Regions from separate parts of the Homo sapiens genome. Here all the other regions are linked to region 2. Evidence: promoter capture Hi-C in 16 types of primary human blood cells and fetal thymus (Javierre and others, 2016). All regions are on one chromosome and are shown on one strand. Each heading gives the region's core, a stretch centred on a gene start or on the middle of the fragment in contact. The rest is flanking DNA. Distances are from core to core; before and after follow the strand shown. Region 1 overlaps CNPY2 (canopy FGF signaling regulator 2). Region 2 holds the start of TIMELESS (timeless circadian regulator). Region 3 overlaps LOC107984468 (a long non-coding RNA gene). Region 4 overlaps ANKRD52 (ankyrin repeat domain 52).

Evidence for each region. The method cuts DNA at HindIII sites, captures the fragments that hold promoters and counts their contacts. A CHiCAGO score of 5 or more calls a contact.
Region 1: a contact is called between a fragment that was not itself captured here and the fragment with the promoter of TIMELESS in region 2, in 12 of 17 cell types (endothelial precursors, M1 macrophages, naive B cells and 9 more). The highest score is 11.8, in endothelial precursors.
Region 3: a contact is called between a fragment that was not itself captured here and the fragment with the promoter of TIMELESS in region 2, in 17 of 17 cell types (total CD8 T cells, naive B cells, naive CD8 T cells and 14 more). The highest score is 14.1, in total CD8 T cells.
Region 4: a contact is called between a fragment that was not itself captured here and the fragment with the promoter of TIMELESS in region 2, in 9 of 17 cell types (naive CD4 T cells, M2 macrophages, M1 macrophages and 6 more). The highest score is 8.5, in naive CD4 T cells.

The regions. Positions count from the first base shown.
Region 1 is chr12:56,308,748-56,311,447 of GRCh38, forward strand. CNPY2 (canopy FGF signaling regulator 2) reads right to left here. Exons shown (of 6, transcript NM_014255.7): 4 at 2,464-2,667; 5 at 2,211-2,307; 6 at 1,097-1,848. The coding sequence ends at 1,805. CNPY2-AS1 (CNPY2 antisense RNA 1) reads left to right here and starts at 2,667. Exons shown (of 2, transcript XR_002957416.2): 1 at 2,667-2,700. The HindIII fragment of the contact is 351 bases long and covers 1,142-1,492 here.
Region 2 is chr12:56,448,079-56,450,778 of GRCh38, forward strand. TIMELESS (timeless circadian regulator) reads right to left here and starts at 1,348. Exons shown (of 29, transcript NM_003920.5): 1 at 1,232-1,348. It overlaps MIP (major intrinsic protein of lens fiber), which reads right to left. Exons shown (of 4, transcript NM_012064.4): 4 at 1,424-2,700. RefSeq lists enhancers at 229-749, 772-891, 1,002-1,091. The HindIII fragment of the contact is 959 bases long and covers 731-1,689 here.
Region 3 is chr12:56,192,165-56,194,904 of GRCh38, forward strand. LOC107984468 (a long non-coding RNA gene) reads left to right here. Exons shown (of 2, transcript XR_007063330.1): 2 at 929-2,740. Among named protein-coding and RNA genes, the nearest start is that of TRS-CGA4-1, 3.2 kb to the left of the region's middle. The HindIII fragment of the contact is 1,406 bases long and covers 783-2,188 here.
Region 4 is chr12:56,250,888-56,253,587 of GRCh38, forward strand. It overlaps ANKRD52 (ankyrin repeat domain 52), which reads right to left. Exons shown (of 28, transcript NM_173595.4): 10 at 2,401-2,515; 11 at 2,117-2,199; 12 at 1,893-2,010; 13 at 1,615-1,683; 14 at 1,288-1,428; 15 at 1,128-1,208. Among named protein-coding and RNA genes, the nearest start is that of ANKRD52, 6.1 kb to the right of the region's middle. The HindIII fragment of the contact is 1,492 bases long and covers 636-2,127 here.

The sequences.
Region 1 (2,700 bases), core at 67-2,566, 140 kb before region 2:
TATATGCATTCTATGCGCCAGGCTTAGTGCAAGGTATTATTAGAGAAAAAAGACTTAAAATAGAAGGTACTCTATAGCTATATTAGATCAGGTCAGCACTTGGGAAAGTTAGCTTATAGACCCAGTTTTGCCATTAAATACAGAACTTCATAAAGTTCTATGGCTTCTCTGGGCCTCAGCTTCTTCATCAATAAAATGGGCAGAGGTGAACCAGACGACCTCTAAGGTTCCTTTAGATTCTAAAATGATGTAATTTTTAAAACCTTTGAAATGTTTATTCAGGTCTTCTCTCCTTGAGGTGTTCTTGGGACCGGAGATATTCCATTTGAAACCCTGAGACAACCATACCTCAAGCTCAGAGTGCTTAAGAATTTTCTGCCAGGTGCGGTGGCTCACACCAGTAATCCCAGCATTTGGGGAGGCCAAGGCGGGCGGATCATGAGGTCAGGAGATCGAGACCATCCTGGCTAACACGGTGAAACCCTGCCTCTACTAAAAATACAAAAAAATTAGCCAGTGCAGGCCGGGCGCGGTGGCTCACGCCTGTAATCCCAGCAGTTTGGGAGGCCAAGGCGGGCGGATCACGAAGTCAGGAGATCGAGACCATCCTGGCTAACATGGTGAAACCCCGTCTCTACTAAAAATACAAAAAATTAGCCGGGCGTGGTGGCGGGTGCCTATAGTCCCAGCTACTTGGGAGGCTGAGGCAGGAGAATGGTGTGAACCCGGGAGGCGAAGCTTGCAGTAAGCCGAGATCGCGCCACTGTACTCCAGCCTGGGCGATAGAGCGAGACTCTGTCTCACAAAAAAAAAAAAAAAAAAATTAGCCGGTGTGGTGGCGGGCGCCTGTAGTCCCAGCTACTCGGGAGGCTGAGTCAGGATAATGGCGTGAACCTGGGAGGCAGAGCTTGTAGTGAGCCGAGATCGCGCCACTGTACTCCAGCCTAGGCGACAGAGCGGGACTCCATCTCAGAAAAAAAAAGAAAAAAAGAATTTCCCAAAAGAAGGTATCCTTTAGGTTTTCATCCCTATGCCCCAGTCTGGAATCTCTACACACAGAATTGTGGACAGACTTATAGTCCAGATTGACAATGGCTAGTGATAGATACACTTTATTGTTGCCACTGGCATCAAATTTAAAAGCTTAGGCTGGCAAGCAAGGCCTCTCATTAAACAACCTTCCTTACCTCGTCTGTCCCTATCCGATAAAGCCCTTACTTTTCAGCTGAGTTGGTCACATCCATTTTCCCCTTCCTGTCTCTGTTCTTGCTGGTCCCTCCATCTGGATGGGCAGGGAAGGAAGAATAATGCATATCCGTTATTTCCTTCAAGACCAAGCCCTGTCTTACTTTATGTTTCAACAGCCATGAACACAAGGGATTTCTAGAATTCTACACTACCATACACTATGTTCCCCTGCTTCCTCATGGAGGTTCCTCTATTCTCCACAATTAGACTCTAAAGACGTGGTATTGAGTGGGCACTGACTGAAAGCTTATCTAGTTTATGAGTGGAGTGGAATCTCAGAAGGTAGAAGAATTAAAGGTTCAGGCCTCTCCTACCTTTATCCTGTATCAATCCCAAAACTCTTCTTTCTCCTCCATTATCTTTCCTGTCTATATAACTCCTTATCTTCAAGCTTAATGTAAGGGCAATTCCAGGCATGAAAAGACAACACAGTTTGTACTTTTGGTTTCATATTTTTTCAGTTAATTTCAGTAAAAACATAATATATAAAAGGCATTGCCACCATTTTCCCCTCCTGGGGGTGATCCATCAAGCCAGTGTGGGCTGCTCCAGTGGTTCATAGCTCATCATGCGATATGTGCAGGGCATGGTCACAAAGATCTGCAAATGGCAAACAATTTAAAGGAATATGCCATTCTCATACTGATATCTGCCAGTATCAAGAAAATTTCCCAGACCAAGCTGACACAAACACACACCAACCACCATTCTGCAGAATATATGCTTATAAATGATAAAACATCCCCACTGTCCTCTCACCTGTATCTCAGGGTCAAGGGGACACAAATTCTGAAAGCTGACAGAAAATGTGGAGGAACACCCCAAGTCCCTAAGCCAAGGGAAATGGAAGACAGCTCTTGACCTAATACCAGAGGTTTCTGGGATGGGGGTGTATGGGTGAGTTAGGGAATGTCAGGTTCCACAGAGCTACTAGAACAGGAGATAAAGTGGGGGCAGCTTACCTGTTCGCTTACTGCAAAGTTTGTCTTTAACATTGTCAGCCTCTCGGGAAAAGAATTCAATGAGTTCATCCTCGTATTCCTCCACAATGCTCTCACACTGCCAACCCAAGGGAGAAATGGGTGACACAGGGCAATAAGAGGCCTCTTGCCTTCACTTCCAAAGAGGAGGACAAGGATATCAGCCTAACTTTCTAATTGGTTCTCCAACAACCCCTTAATGTCCAAGAACCAGCTACCGATTCCCATAGCTCACCGCAAACTTGAGGGTGCCGCTAATATCTGAGTCGATTCGGATGCCTTGTAGGTCCAGTTCACTGGATTCTCCATTCCGGCCCACTACACGTACGTAGTTCTTGCGATGGGTGGAAGGATCAATCTGTTCCCCATACTCCTTCATCCGGTCACATATCTCCTCCAGCAGCTCTGTGAGGTGGGCCTCTGAGCGGGCATAAGGCACCTAGAAATGTCCTCAGCCTTGGGTCACTCTCTT
Region 2 (2,700 bases), core at 98-2,597:
TTAACATCAGATGATCTACCTTTACTTTGTACAAAGTACTAGTAGGGCCGGGTGTGGTGGCTCACACCCGTAATCCCAGCACTGTGGGAGGCCGACGCGGGCGGATCATTTGAGGTCAGGAGTTCGAGACCGGCCTGGCCAACATGGTGAAACCCCATCTCTACTAAAAATACAAAAATTAGCCGGGCGTGGTGGCGGGCAGCTGTAATCCCAGCTCCTGGGGAGGCTGAGGCAGGAGAATCGCTTGAACTGGGGAGGCGGAGGTTGCAGTGAGCCGAGATCGGACCACTGCACTCCAGCCTGGGCGACAGAGCCAGACTCCATCTCAAAAACAAAACAAAACAAAACAACCAAAAAAAACAAACAGGCCAGGCGCGGTGGCTCACGCCTATAATCCCAGCACTTTGGGAGGCCGAGGCGGGCGGATCACGAAGTCAGGAGTTTGAGATCATCCTGACCAATAAGGTGAAACCCCCATCTCTACTAAAAAAAATACAAAAATTAGCCGGGCATGGTGGCGCGCGCCTGTAATCCCAGCTACTCAGGAAGCTGAGGCAAGAGAATCGCTTGAACCCGGGAGGCGGAGGTTGCAGTGAGCCGAGATGGCGCCACTGCACTCCATCCTGGGCGACAGAACGAGACTCCGTCTCAAAATAAAATAAAATAAATAAAAAATTGAAAGTACTAGTCGAAGCACGAATGGCAAAGAATTGAGAGGCTCAAGGAAAAAAGCTTCATTAGCGGCTGAGGTCCAGGTGACAAACCCGAACAAGGCAACGAAGGGAGGGAGTGAGAAATCCGTTCCATAAAACCCACGATATAAGTAAAGCGGCCTGTGAATTCCGACCACTGCTGACCGCCAGGCCACACACCGGTTTTTTTCAGGAGGTCTCAACTAGATGCTAAGCTCCGAAGTGGAACTCCCTCAGGCACTTTCTGTTCTAATTCAGGAATTCCAAGCCCCTTTCCATCACAACCCCATCCCGCGGGAGACCCAAGCTGTGCGGAGCAGCGTAGGGCTAAGCCCGCGTCCGGTGAGACCCGGGAACGCGGCGCGGGAGACTAAGGAGCAGAGTACAGAATTGCGCGTGCGCGCCTGCAGCACGAGCCCCGCCCCCTGGCTCTAAACCGGGTGGCGGGAAAAGGGACTCAGCGTTTCCCGAGAATGCCCCCATAGCTTCGAAAGGATCCCCGTGTCCGCTTAGCGCCCTCTCGCCACACACTCACTCACCCGCTCCCTGCGGGTCCTCAGAAGCCCGGAGGAGCCACCGGCCCTCTGGCGCGGGGCCGCAGCCTTTCCGCCACCAGGCTCAGCTGGACCGGTCCCCGCCTGCGCGAAGAGCGAGGCGGGGCGAGCCGGGCTGGTCCACGTGACTCCGAGCGAACTGGGGCGGAGATTGGTGAAGAAGGAAGGAAAAGGGAAGCGAGTGCAGGGACTGTTTTATGTGAGGTCGATCTAAAAATCACAGCGCTATGAATTTTCTGCTGAATTATAGTAGAATCAAAGTCCGATTAGAGGTGAATTTACAAACATTCTTCCCCTTCTTCTAGTCAAGCGGACTATTCCAAGTCTTAAATAGTTAGTTAGAAAAGTTAGGTTTTATTTGGGAGGAAGTAAAGAGCTGAAGTACAGGGAGGAATGGTCTTCTGGGATAGGGGATGTCCGTTGTATTATAGGTATAAATTTAAAGCTTTCAAAGTATGCAAGAGGCTCATAAAAGGAAGAAAGCAACCGTAAATATTCATTGAACAGTTGAGGGTCTCTTCTGGCCTCTGCTGAGATGATCTTGCCAAAAGGAAAAGAAAATAGGGCTGTGCTCTGGCCCCCTGTAATCCCAGCTACTGGGGAGGCTGAAGCAGGAAGATCGCTTGAGCCCAGGATTTCTAGACTGTAGTGTGCGATGATCGTGCCTGTGAATATCCATTGCACTCCAACCTGGTCAACATAGTAAGACCCCCTCTCAAAAAAAAAAAGAAGATAGGGCTCAAACAAATAATAATCTCCTGAATTATTAAGCATTTGAATAGAAGGAATCAATTTCTGGGGTATGAGGGAGTTAGAAGAGATTTGCTTCAAGATGAAAGGACGGATGACAGAGAAATGAAAATACACAGACACAAAACAAGAAAAAAAACACGGAACTAGTGATAAAAGCAGAAAGATGCCATTTGAGGAGTGTTTTGATTTGCTCTAAATAAATTAGAACAGAGTCAAAGCCTCTCCCCTCATGCCCCCTACTACCACCCGTTCATTTATTTGCTCCAGGAATCAGATTTCCTGTGTTGGCCTTAGGGAACAATTGTGGGGCTTAAATACCATCTGCCAGGCAGCCACAACAGTGGATGTCAGGCTGACCAGTTAAGCTGCTTAATTTTTCTAGATTCTAGGCTTGCCCAAGCTCTATTTAGGTTGGAAGCTCTTTGGCCCAGGACCTCTGAAGAGATCCATTATGTCAGAATGAACACAACCAGCCAGCGGATGTAGACAGGTTTACGTGGCTTTACAGAACAGCTAAATCCTAGTGTTCACTTTTCTCAGAGCTACTTCCCCACCCAAGTCCCTGGGGCAAGCATCCCTAAGATAAGTAGGCTATATATTCCCATTAACTTCCCCCCAATTCTTCGGTACACCTACATCCTGATCTGGGGCTAATACTCCGTTTTCACCACCCACCTCCCTTGAGTCCCTTCTCCTAACCC
Region 3 (2,740 bases), core at 236-2,735, 260 kb before region 2:
GTGAAATCCCATCTCTACTAAAAATGCAAAAATTAGCTGGGTGTGGTTGGCGGGCGCCTGTAATCCCAGCTACTTGGGAAGCTGAGGTAGGAGAAATCACTTGAACCCAAGAGGCAGAGGTTGCAGTGAGCCAAGATCGTGCCACTGCACTCCAGCTTGGGCGATGCAGCAAGACTCTGTCTCAAATAAAATAAAATTAAAATAAAATAGAAACAGGTTCCATTTATTTTACCTTCTAAATATGTCTCAAATATGCTCACTTTTCTCAGGGGTGAGTGCAGGCTGAGCTAGAGCCTTCATTTGGAAGGTAGTGGTATTTGTGAGCACCATACGAGGTAATATATAGAAAACTGCACTAAAGCATCCACACTGCAGTCCGGGACCTTAAACCCTTCTATGGCTGCTTTCTGTGTTGCAGGATATGACCCCTTTTCTCTCACCACTCTTCCATATTCACTACATTCTGTCCACTGGCATTCTTTTAGTTCTTCCTGGTAGTTATTTAGCCTTGCTCATGGTGTTCTCTGCCTGGAATAATCTTTCTCTTCCACACTTTCTACTCATTCTCCACCTAAATGTTGGTTCTCCTGTGGAGTTTTCTCTGACCACTTGTTGCCTACCACATCCTATGCTCTCAACTTATTATGTGAAGTCTTTCTTCCCCTGTGGCATATAAACACATTAAACACAGATAAGGAGTCAGTTTTTAAAATTTTTTTGCATAAATGGGTGTTTTTTACAGTAGTTATGTGTACATGTTTTAATCTTTAGACTGGTATATAAGCTTCTTGAGAGTTAGGGCTGTGTATTTTATTTATTTGTATCTTCTCTACAAGGCCTTATAGATGTGATCAACTATGTGTTGAATGAATTTATAAAATCTCATAGGCTCATGATTCTCCTTCCTACCAAATCCCAATTTGCACAGGTTCTCATATTTAAATATCTGGAGAGCCAAGACCAGAATTGACCAGCAGAGGGCAACCAACAACTATGTTGTGAAGGGAAGAAGGCTCCATGGTTTACAAAATGGAGGATCTGGACCAAGAAGGGAAATATGGCAGAGGTAGTTTGCTACTTGAAGTTCATCCCTTTTACTCTCAAATGCTTCTCTTGTAACTTTTGTGGGTGAGAGGCCGAGGCTTCAAACCTTCATATACAATAGATCATTTTAAATTTCTACCATCCCCATGTACCCACCCCATCTCCCCAATTCCTTCACCCTTCCTCTTCCACTCCAACAAATCCTAACTATTCTTTTACCTTTCTTTACCTTGCATGATCTGGCCCCCTCTCTCTCACCATTCTTACATATTTACATATCACCCACTGGCATTCTTTAGTTCCTGCTACAGTATGTGGCCTTCCATATTTTCCCTGAAGTAACCTTCTCCACTTAAGCCTGTAGTCCCACTCATTTAAACCTCCTAAGGAACCTTCCATAAATATCCTTCCATAACACCTTAAAATTCCTCTACTCCACTGGATCAATCCTTCATGAATTCAGTACAAACAAAACCCCACCTTCATTTGACACTTTCAAATTTCCACATTGTTTTCTACTTCCTTTTATTTTTCGAATAAAATGTATACCTTTCTGCCTCCAGTTCCATACTATCAGATACCCCGTCATCTGGTTTCTGCCTCCTGAAGTGTTTTGGTTTTTTTTTCTTTTTTACTTTTTTACTTTTTATTTTTTTTTGAGACAGAGTCTTGCTCTCTCACCTAGGCTGGAGTGCAGTGGCACAAGCTCGGCTCACTGCAACCACCACCTCCCAGGTTCAAGCAATTCTCCTGCCTCAGCCTCCCAAGTAGCTGGTATTACAGGTCCCTGTCACCATGCGCCTGGCTAATTTTTTTTTTTTGTATTTTTAGTAGGGACGGGGTTTTGCTATGTTGACCAGGCTGGTTTTGAACTCCTGACCTCAAGTGATCCACCTGCCTCAGCCTCCCCAAGTGCTGAGATTACAGGTGTGAGCCACCGCGCCCGGCCTCCTGAAGTTTTTTAGACGTTAATAGAAACCACTGGACAAATTTAATAATCTCTTCTCAGTCTCCATCCTTTCTGTGTTTGAAACAACATTGATTTCTTACTGGCCTTCAGAAACACTTATTGTTTTTCTCCTTCTCAGTATACTGCTTCTCCACCTCATTTGCTTTCTTCTTCCTCCTGTGGAATTTCCACCAAAGCTTCATTCTCCCGAGACAAAATCTCAGAGCCACCTTTCCAGGTATGTCCTCAGCTAAACCATGGTCCTTTATCTCCAGCTGTTCACATCTCTGCACAGCTGACCTAGTGTCACCTAATATGCAAACAAAGCTTCTCTTCCTCTCTCACAATCATCGTTCTGAACTTTTCCCACTTTTGTTGATACCACTATTCACTCAATTCCTTCATTTCCAGCTCTAAGAATTAATTATCTGAAGTTTGTTTTCTCCCAAGCCCATCACACTGATTCATCAGTTGCTTCCCCAAGCACATCATCTTAATTCATGCCTGTTACGATGGCCTTCAAGGTGCCCTAGTTTCACCACACTGAAATCCACCCTATATTAGTGTGATTACACTGCTTTCATCATATTATTCCCCTGTCCAGGAACTCAGTTCCCCATCTAAACAAACACATGATCCTATTATCAACATACCCTGCCTAAATTGCCCGTTTTTCTTACCCTTACATCTTTCCACTAAGATACCTTCCATCTAATCTGGCTGGTCATCTCCGTGTGACAGCCCAAC
Region 4 (2,700 bases), core at 132-2,631, 200 kb before region 2:
AAGACAGAAATTTGGGACAATTCATCCTTTTTAAATTTTTATTTAATTTTATTTATTTATTTGTTTTTTTGGAGACAGAGTCTCACTCTGTCGCCCAGGTTGGAGTGGATTAGTGTGATCTTGACTCACTGCAACCTCCACCTCCCTGGTTCAAGTGATTCTCCTGCCTTAGCCACCCGAGTAGCTGGGATTACAGGTGCCTGCCAACATGACCAGCTAATTTTTATATTTTTAGTAGAGACGGGGTTTCACCACGTTGGCCAGGCTGGTCTCGAACTCCTGACCTCAGATGATCTGCCTGCCTCGGCCTCCCAAAGTGCTGGGATTATAGGCGTGAACCACCACACCCGGCCTATTTTTAATTTTAATTTTTTTGAGACAGAGTCTTGTTCGGTTGCCCAGGCTGGAGTGCAGTGGCGTGATCTCGGCTCACTACAACCTCCACCTCCCTGGTTCAAGCAATTCTCCTGCCTCGGCCTCCTGAGTAGCTGGGATTATAGGCGTGTGCCACCACACCTGGTTAATTTTTTGTATTTTTAGTAGAGACGGGGTTTCACCATGTTGGTCAAGCTGGTCTTGAACTCCTAACCTCAGGTGATCTGCCTACCTCAGCCTCCCTAAGTGCTAGGATTACAAGCTTGAGCCACTACGCCCAGCCTCATCTTTTATCCTTAGTATCTAGCACAGTACTTGGAACCTAGTAAGTAAATATTTAATTAATGCTTGTGGAATAAACAAATTATTTTGTACATTTAGCTTTTCTAATCCTCTCAAGAAGACCAGCCGGGCGCGGTGAGCTGAGATCACACCACTGCATTCCAGCCTGGGCAACAGAGTGAGACTCTGTCTCCAAAAAAAAAAAAAAAAAAAAAATCCATTCCTTTAGGGAAGGAACTATGTCTCATACTTTTGGGTTTTTTTTTCCCCCTGAAGCTCCTGAGCTTCAATCTCATACTTTTGTCTTTGCCCACTATGGACTACACCCAGAGGGCTCAAGACACACTGCTGGCTGACCGGCAGGACAGCAGCAGTATAGGGTAGAGGTTCAGATTAGGTAGGAGGACAGTAGGGCCAGAGCTTGCATGGGTTGGGGAAAGCACATCCCAGGGGCCCTCTCTGCTACTCACAAGAAGGCCTCCTTCCTGCGGGACTCCTTCAGTGGCTCGTCCTCTTCGGCATCATGGCTGGAAGGTGTATGGGGTTCCGCTCTGGGGAAGAGAGAGAGAAAGTTAGGGCCAGGCTCAGGGAGGTGAATGGGGCTGAGAAGGACCAGACTGGTAGCCTCACCTCCTGTAAGTGTCAGAAGCGGCAGCGTAGTGGAGGGGAGAGCAGCCTTTACAGTCGGCCTCGTTGACACCTGCCCCAGCAGTCACCAATGTTACTGCACACTGGTAGCTACCGTTAGCAGCTGCATAGTGCAGTGGGGTCCTGGGGAAGAAGTGAAGGAGGGTGGGGAAGAGAATCAGAGACAGATACGAATGCAATCAGATGTGCAGCCAAATGCTGCTTTGTAACATTCTCCTTATTTAAGTCTCCAATCTAAACCCTTCCTCCCTCTACCATTTGTTTCTCTAATCAGATATTCCCTATGTTTACCCCTGCATATTAGCATACCTGCCAAATTTGTCCCTCCTCCTCAAGTCAGCTCCACTGCTCAACAGCAAATTAAGACATTCAACATTCCTAAAAGAAAGATGTGTTAAGAGAGTTACAGCCTCAAAGGGAAGCCACAGGCCCAGGGTGGGGCTAAGGAAGGATGGGACTAGCAAGCCCTTTCTGCTGTGACTGCTTTCATTGTGAGAGGGGGAATAGATCTGGGCAGGCAAGAATGAGGGGCCCAGACCTTTGCCCAGCTCCCTGCTCAAAGCATGGGAGAGAGAAAGAGAACTCACCCTCCGGAAGCAGCAGCATGAAGACAGGTACGGCCAAGGTTGTCAGGTGTATTGATGTCAAACCCAGCTGAAAGCACATGCTCATTGCTGAGTGAAGACACAATGCTGTACAACTGACCTGGAGGCACAGAACAGCCACAGGTCACATCTGAGAGTGTTCAGCAGGGAGGGAAAGGCCTTTGCTCTCCTATACACCTGCCAATCCCCAGCCCATCAGCACATACCTGAGGAAAGAAGCTTACGACAACAGTCAGAGAATCCAAAGAGAACAGCTAAGTGCAGGGGGAACATGTCATGGATGCCACGCCTAGAGAGAAGTTGAGGGACTCAGTCCTTGGGTCAAGGAGGGACCAAGTAAGACCTCTTCTGTGACCTACCACCACCCTAGAGTCAGGGTAGGAGGTTCTCCAAGGTGCCCTTTGGCAAGCTTATCTGTGCCTCCATGGTTGATGTGAGCAGTCTGTGCAGATCTGGGCAGCCCAGAAGTGGAGTCGGGGCCCTGACTCACCGGGCGGTATCTGCGCCATTGGTCATGAGGGTGCTGATGAGCAGCTCGTGTCCATATCGAGCAGCCACATGCAGTGGCGTGTTCCCAAATTTGTCGGCACAATCAATCTCGCTGCCTGTGAGGGGATGCACACACACAAGCTCAGGCAGACCTCAGGCTTAAGACCACTTTCGCGAGCTAGCCATGATTTGAGTGCCTACTATGTATGCATCAGGTGCCAGGCCCAGGATTCTACATATTTTATCCTGTTTCTAGGCCTTAGGAGACTGGGCAGGGCAGAGCAGGGCCATTTCCACAGGT